Linked DNA regions of Homo sapiens: region 2 is linked to region 1. The links are contacts of gene promoters, found by promoter capture Hi-C in blood cells and fetal thymus (Javierre and others, 2016). All regions are on one chromosome and are shown on one strand. Each heading gives the region's core, a stretch centred on a gene start or on the middle of the fragment in contact. The rest is flanking DNA. Distances are from core to core; before and after follow the strand shown.

Region 1 (4,114 bases), core at 547-3,046:
CAGAAAATGGCAGAGCTGGGATATTCCAGAGCAAGAAAATGGCAAAATATAAGTGAAGTAACCTTTCAATGAATTTGGTTTTAACTCCACAATGCTGTTTGAACTAAATGCCTTTAAGTTAACTACAGAATAAAAGGGTGAAAGGATAAATCATTTCAGCAAGGTACCCTAAAACCTACCAAAGAAGAAAAAAAATATGACTTGAGATTCTATAACCTTGTCTACTTAAGCTAGAGATTCTTGAATCCTGTCATGATGAATGGAAAATTGAATGCATTTTCCTAAGGGGTTCATCATAGCTTACAGTTTTTTTTCCTTTCTTTTCTTTTCTTTTTTTTTTTTGAGACAGAGTCTGGCTCTGTCACCCAGGCTGGAGTGCAGTGGCATGATCTCACTGTAACCTCCGCCAGGTTCAAGCCATTCTCGTGCCTCAGCTTCCTGAGTAGCTGGGATTACAGGCGGGTGCCACCCCGCCCAGCTAATTTTTTCTATTTTTAGTAGAGACAGGGCTTCGCCGTGTTGCCCAGACTGGTCTCGAACTCCTGACCTCAAGTGATCCACCCGCCTCCCAAAGTGCTGGGATTACAGGCATGAGCCACCGCGCCGGGCAGCTTACAGATTCTTGCAATAGTACTTAACCACACGCCCTCCTAGCCCCAAAGTAACGAATCACAGATATTTTTAAAAAAGAATCAAAGCACTCTGGTCCAAGGCAGACCAGAGTTAAGTAAGCATCTGGTAGGTGTCATAGTCCAGCAATACTGTAAGTTTATGGGAAAGGGCCTATGGAAACCAATGACTGTATATAGTTCAAGTTAAGTGGTTCAAAAATTTCGTTCATTATTCTCTGCCATGTACACAAGCCTCAGACCCTCTAATTCCAAGGAAAATTATCCTTGGCCTCTGAATTCTGTGAATTGTGTACATTAAGGGAGATCTGTCCTTGGCAAGCAGAACACGTTGTTGGCAAGCTGCAAATACCTTCCACCCTTTTGCCAAAGTCCCCTCACAGGGCAGGCTCAATTCCTCAACCTTCAGACCCAAAACGGCTTGGTATTACACAACAATCCAACAAGAAAGCAAATAAGTATGTACGTTGGAAGAGATTACACCACTTTTATAGTTACTGGGCTGGAGCCACTCATTTTTCAGCGGAGAGGGTTAGAACTGGGTAATGAAGGTAAATCCCGAGGAGTCCAGGAATAGCAGATTCACTGATTCACTGACTCTCTGGGACTCGGGCTGCCAAAAATAAAATCCCAGTACTGGGGGCTCCGATCAGTCTTGGTGACCAGCACTAGGCAGCTTCAACCTCGGGTGCCTGAAAGTGCTGGGTGTCCAGTGGCATAAGTCTTCTTTGATACCCAGTCCTCTACACCAACAAAGCCGAGGTCCGGAATGACAGTCCCCAGAGAAGCGGAGTCACCCTTCTCCCATCCGGCTAGGCCACAGGAACCTGAGAAAATCAAGGGTTGCTGCCAGGTGCCCGCCCCCCACCCCGAATCCCCGACGTTGTCGCGAGTCCCGCGGTACAAGGACAGAGGGAAAGTAGGTACAGTGTTCAGGTCCCAGCCCCAGGCTCCTCACCCAACAAAGTTCAGTCATCTGGTGCACCAGCTGCTGGAAGCGCTGCTTTTGAGTCTCTACCTCGATGAAATGCTGCAACTGCGGGTCCACTGCACCCAAACCCGCCGCGGAGGAAGAGGAGGAGGAATCCATCCCAGGGCGACCAAGCTTGCAGAGACGAACTCCGCACCGACCTTCACGTGTCTCCGCGACGGAACCGGAACCACAGCTAGCTGCCTCTGGGACCGCCCCCGTGAGTGCACTGCGTCGGCGCGAGGCAGGCGTCCAACTCCACCCCGCCGCCTCCCACACCTTGGCGCCGGTGCTTCGTTCCCGGAGTCGGCGGGTTCCACTCCCCGGACCCCGCAATCCCGTAACCCCGCAACCCTGCCGTTGCGCCCAGCCTTGCGCCTTGAGATCGCAGGGCTTACAGCCCAGAGCCGAGGTGCCGTTGAGATGTTACTCCAAAAAGAAAAGAAAGGAGAAAAGGAAGTTACTTCAGACCACGTGATCCATTCCGTGCTGGCCCCACAGCTCCGCCCCTGTCCACTTCCAAATTAGCCCGCGTTTTCTGAGCTACCAGAGTTGTGCACTGGGTCAGTTAGTTGACTGGGTCGATTAGTTGGCTATCCTGGGCCCCTGGCTTTCGTTTTTTGATGGAGTTTTCCTCTCCCGACGTAGGGAAATGAGGCTATGGCAGTTTGTGCCCAACTTTCAGATTCATTCAAATAACATTGCATGCGTGCTGTGACAGGCACTGTTTTTGCTTAATGCATCTTTGATTCAGAGGCAGGAGTTAACAAGAGGGCTTAAACCTGGAGGATCCTGTCGAGTTCTCAGTGTAGGAATATGCCAAACTAATGCTACACAGCAGCTTTCTGGAATACTGAGATAGGGCGCTTCAGGGAGGCTGCATGATTAATAGAGATACCAAAGACTTTCAAGCTTTCTAGTAATTTTATTTTATCAAAACACCCTCCCCTCCCATCTTTATGACACCATTTCATTCTTGCCAAATTCGGTCCACCCCCACACACACACCCCCAAGCTCTACCAAATGCCTACTCAAAGAGCTGTTGGACCCCTTTGTGCGGCTATTTACATCCTCCCTCCTAAAAAATATTTTCATCGCAAATTCAGTCTGTCTTAATTCTCTCGGGAAATTTCAGGCACAATAATTTCTTGGCCTTTGCTCAGAAGCCACTATCCCAGGGAATCAAAGAAGAGGTGCATTCCCAGATGTAGAGAGGGGCCTTTTTGTATTGAGTGGGAGCACAAAGGCTCCAGGGCTCCTAAGCTTGGGATTTCCTCTGAGAAAGTGAAATTGGGGCTTGTGGAGAAGAGAAGTAGAACCAAGAAGCTTATTGGCGAGCTCAGGATTCTTCATCCATGACATCTAGAATATTGCTCAGAAGAATTTTGAAAGTGGGACGCTCATCTGCTTTCTAAAACCAAAGAAAAAGTAAAGTGTTAGAGTGGCTAGAATCCAGAATTCAAGGGAAATGCAATGAGTAAGCAGCAAATGTTTATTAAATATATGCTCTATGCCCAGTAGCATGCCCTGTCGATTACAAAAGGAAAAAAAAAAAAAAAAGAAATAGCAGCTCTCCATAAAGTCTTTGTGCACTTTTCATCTTTAGTAACTCAGGTTATTAGTGTGATAAGAACAATTTGCAAATTAAACTGACAATCACACTGATCAAAATTGAGGGCAAGTTCATTATGTAACTGTATACAACACATTCTTATTTTGGATCCTCAAGTGAAAAATGGCTACCAAACAAGTTCAAGTGGTTGGCAGAACAGAAATCCCATGTGATAATTTTTAGTGATTAATATTTCAAAACCACAGGCTGTATTACTGAGCAGGGATTCTGAGTACCTGGGACCTTTTTTTTTTTTTTTTTTTTTTTACCACTGGTAACAAAAAGACTAAGGTTTTTTTTTTTTTTTCTTTTTGAGACAGAGTCTCACCCTGTTGTCCAGGCTGGAGTGCAGTGGTGTGAGCTCAGCTCACTGCCACCTCCCAGGTTCAAGCGATTTTCCTGCCTCAGCCTCCCAGGTAGCTGGGATTACAGGTGCACGCCATCACGCCCAGCTAATTTTCGTATTTTTAGTATAGACCGGGTTTCACCATGTTGGTCAGACTAGTCTCGAATTCCTGACCTAAGGTAATTCCCCCGCCTCAGCCTCCCAAAGTGCTGGGATTACAGGCGTGAGCCACCGCGCCCGGCCTACGACTAAGGTTCTTTTTGATGGCCATGGCCCATAAGCCCCCGAGGTATTTGGTATTTAGTGGTTCAGGGAACATTCATGCCAGAATGCTCTCAATCTGTTAGAACCAATGGTCATCAATTTCTTGATTCCTTGACTCAGTGATTCTTAAACTTAGCTGAGTATCAGAATTTCCTGGGAAGTTTAAAAAGAGATTTCTGGGTTCCACTTCAGGCATAGCTAATCAGAATTTCTGGAGAAAAGTCCCAGTTACCTGAATTTTTTTTTGTGACACAGTCTCGCTCTGTCACTCAGGCCAGAGTGCAGTGGCAGG
Region 2 (4,114 bases), core at 951-3,450, 34 kb after region 1:
GGGAGGCTGAGGCGGGTGGATGACAAGGTCAGGAGTTTGAGAGCAGCCAGCCTGACCAACATGGAGAAACCCTGTCTCTACTAAAAATACAAAAACTAGCTGGGCCAACGCTACTCTCCCAGCTACTCAGGAGGCTGAGGCGGGAGAATCCCTTGAACCCGGGAGGCAGAGGTTGCAGTGAGCCGAGATCTTGCCATTGCACTCCAGCCTGGGCAACAAGAGTGAAACTCGGTCGCGAAAAAAAAAAAAAAAAAAAAAGAAAATTTATATATATATATATGGTACACATTCTCCAGCAACTTGCTTTTTTCCCCTCAATATAATATGTTAGGATTTATTTATCTGGCTAGTTCTACTTCATATGTTTTAATTCATTTTTATATGCATAAAATATTCTATATGATGAATACATTCCAATATATTTATTCATTCTCCTGTTGATGGACATTTAGGTTGTTTGCTTTCAGTGATAAACAATGCTGCTGTGAACATTATTTTGATTTTTTGATCTCAGAATGAATTCTCAGTTACTTAGACAAACTGGCAAACCTAGGTCCAGCTTATCTTTTGGACTATGCAATTTGCATCATTCCTTCTTGCCTTTTCAGTCCTGTCTTCCTGATGCTTCACTATGAAATGTGGTAGAATTATCAACTATCTCTAGTGGGAGGTTAAATTTGGCCTACGGAAAATCTCTTCCCAGTCCCAAGAAGCATCCTTCACGTTCTAACTGAGATTTCAATTGAGAATTCCTTGGCCTTGGGACCAGAAGAGAACGTGTTAAGAACTGAAATACTATCTATATAATCAAGACCCCTTTATGTACTCCAAAATCTTAGTCTTCTCCCTCCTTAGAGATTACCAATATCTTGAATTTGGTGTTTATCATTCCTAGGTACGTTTTCATATTATCATTACAGATGTAAATATCTATAAAAGATATACAGTATTGGTTTACATGTTTAAAATTTACATATGGCCACGTGTGGTAGCTCATGCCTGTAATCCCAGCACTTTGGGAGGCTGAGGCGGCTGGATGGCAAGGTCAGGAGTTTGAGAGCAGCCAGCCTGACCAACATGGAGAAACCCTGTCTCTACTAAAAATACAAAAATTAGCCTGGCGTGGTGGCGCGCACCTGTAATCCCAGTTACTCAGGAGGCTGAGGCAGGAGAATTGCTTGAACCCAGGAGGCGGAGGTTGCAGTGAGCCGAGATCGTGCCACTGCACTCCAGCCTGGGTGACAGAGTCAGACTCCGTCTCAAAAAAAAAAAAAAAGAAAAAAGAAAAAAAAATCATACCCACAGCAACAAAGCAACCTTTAATCTTGTTAAATTCCCAAGATGCTTTTGTTCGGGCCCCAGTGAAACCCAATTATTTTATGATAAGCTTCATAGTCAAGGCTACAGGGGACCAAATTTGTGATGAAGGCATCAAGCCAAACTCAATTTTCGAAAGCTGCATGCTGACCAGGGAAACTCTCCTGCTGTAGTCATTTACAGGAGGCCTTAGGGCTCTCTGGTTCTTCCACAGCAGTTCATGTTTTATTTATTTATTTATTTATTTATTTATTTTTGAGACAGAGTCTCGCTCTGTCATCCAGGCTTCGGTACAGTAGCGCAATCTTGGCTCACTGCAATCGCTACCTCCCAGTTTCAAGCAATTCTCTTGCCTCAGCCTCCTGAGTAGCTTGGACTACAGCCGCACACCATGACACCTGCCTCGGCCTCCCAAAATGCTGGGATTACAGGCTTGAGCCACCGCGCCTGGCCTTATGTTTTTAGCATTTTACATTTTTCTTCTGTGGTTTTGGAAACTTCTAGGTCTCTGTGATTCATCATCTCTTTTTGTCTTGCATTAGCGACAATATATTCTGGCCAACTGATGATGGAAGGAGAGCCAGAGAGCCAATCTGCAAGTTTATAGTCAGTGCCAGATCAGATCAGTGGTAATACTTTCAATATTCTCCCTCTGCTCTGAGGGTGACTGCTGGGGTGTCTGTCTTTCACTCTGGACTTGTGTGCCCTTTTGGCCTTCTTTTTCAACCTAGTTTTTGTTTTCCTTGGCTTAAACATTTTATTTATTTTTTCCATCGATATCAAAATAACACACGCAGCTGGGTGCAGTGGGGTGCACCTGTAGTCCCAGCTACTCAGGAGGCTGATATTGGAGGATTGCTTGAGCCCAAGAGTTCAAGGTCAGCCTGAGAAACATAGGGAGACCCCCATCTCAAAATAAAACAAAATATAGTAAAATAAAACATGCTTATTGTAGAAAATATGTCAAGTACAGGGATATAAAAAAGAAAAAATCATTCATAAACTCATCCAGAGGCATTAATATATCGGCATATTCCTTCCATTTTTTTCTGTGTGTGTTTCTTATAATATTTGAGATCATATTGCACATTCAGTTAATTTACCTATTTTTCGTAACATCTATGTATGTATGTATGCATGTATGTATGTATCTATCCATCCATCCATCCGTTCAAGGTACCTTTTTCCAAAAAAAGATCTAATGTTCTTATTTAACATTATTCCTAATTATTTTCCCATGTTATTAGGATCTCTATACAAGCATCATTTCCAGAGTCAAAAAAGTATGTGCATTTTGCATTTTGATACATACTGCCAAAATAGTTTCCAGAAACATTGTCCCAATTTCAGTTCCAAATAGTTTTAGAGAGCCCCCTTTCTCATTATCCTTATCTCTTTTCTGGTCCATTTCTAATCATTTTTAAAACTCTGGTTTTACTGCAGACAAATCTTTTTTTTTTTTCATTGAGTCAATGATCTTAAACTCCAGTATATTCCAACTTCCAGCTTGTCTAAAACTTAACTTCTCTTGACTCTAGAATTTCCTTCTTCTAGGGTGAGCTAACAGACTACAGTTTGTTTTCAGTTCAGGGAGGTAGGGCAGTGAGAGGAGCTTCTCCTTGAGATTCAAATAACCAATATAATCCTAAAGACATCTTGTGAGAACTTTCTAAGAGCGGAGAGAAGAGCCTGGTATTAAAGCTTCTGGGTTTCCAATGCTCTCAGATTGCCCTCAGCCACTGCACATGAATCTCCATAGAAACTGAAAGTCACACGTGGCCCAATTGTTTCAGGGTCCTCAGAGGAGTTCTCCCTCCTCCTTCCCCTCCCCAGATGGCTTCATGCATAACCAAGTAGCTTTGGAGTCAAATATGTCAAGGCCTCTTTTCTAGCTTCTTGCTGAGCACTGTGTCACTGAAAATTCTAGTTCTTCCTTATTTTCAGTAGTTAGCAATCAGATCTCAGCAATCAGATCATTGTGGGTGTAGAAGGGGGTATCTGATAACTCTTTGGAGAACGCCCAAACTTTGGTTTTCGAAAGCTGTATCTTCCCTTTATACCTAAGTCACTTCCTGATATGGGTCTAGTCCACTGAAAGGAAACTCTATAGGAAATTTGCTCAAATGGAAATAGCAAATCATAGTGATAATTTAAAATTGCACCAATCCCCCATAACTGGATGGAAAGTTACATTAGTTCGCACCATAAGGAGTTTACAAAGAATTCCAGGGTGGGTGCGGTGGCTCACGCCTGTAATCCTAGCACTTTGGGAGGCCCAAGCAGGCAGATCACCTGAGGTTGGGAGTTCGAGACCAGCCTGACCAACATGGAGAAACCCCGTCTCTACTAGAAATACAAAATTAGCTGGGCGTGGTGGCACATGCCTGTAATCCCAGCTACTTGGGAGGCTGAGGCAGGAGAATTGTTTGAACCCGGGAGGCGGAGGTTGCGGTGAGCTGAGATCCCGAGATCGTGCCATTGCACTCCAGCCTGGGCAGCAAGAGTGAAACTCCGTGTCAAAAAAAAAAAAAAAAAATTCCAAACAAAAATATCAATAGCCATACGCAATGGAAATTTGGACTTCAACACAAGCAAGCAGTTTAAATAGTTTGAATATAAAAGGAGTCAGAATAGACAGGACAAGCCCTAAGGGACACTGTTTGGGTATAATGCTTTAGGTTGCCATGAGTATTTGCATTTTGTGGCTTATTTGGAAAGTGACATTATTTTATCAAATAACTGAGGCTCCAGAGAGGCTGGAGTCTGGGCAACTTATCCAAGGATGTCTTGATTGGGG

Evidence for each region. Contacts are between HindIII fragments. The CHiCAGO score rates a contact against its expected background, and 5 or more counts as called.
Region 2: a contact is called between a fragment that was not itself captured here and the fragment with the promoter of TIMM8A in region 1, in 2 of 17 cell types (total B cells and megakaryocytes). The highest score is 6.0, in total B cells.

Annotation. Positions count from the first base shown.
Region 1 is chrX:101,346,946-101,351,059 of GRCh38, forward strand. TIMM8A (translocase of inner mitochondrial membrane 8A) reads right to left here and starts at 1,797. Exons shown (of 2, transcript NM_004085.4): 1 at 1,588-1,797. The coding sequence starts at 1,719. BTK (Bruton tyrosine kinase) reads right to left here. Exons shown (of 19, transcript NM_000061.3): 19 at 2,505-3,011. The coding sequence ends at 2,940. RefSeq lists an enhancer at 1,719-1,768. The HindIII fragment of the contact is 777 bases long and covers 1,733-2,509 here.
Region 2 is chrX:101,380,771-101,384,884 of GRCh38, forward strand. All of the region lies in intron 1 of BTK (Bruton tyrosine kinase), which reads right to left. Among named protein-coding and RNA genes, the nearest start is that of BTK, 3.4 kb to the right of the region's middle. The HindIII fragment of the contact is 1,631 bases long and covers 1,386-3,016 here.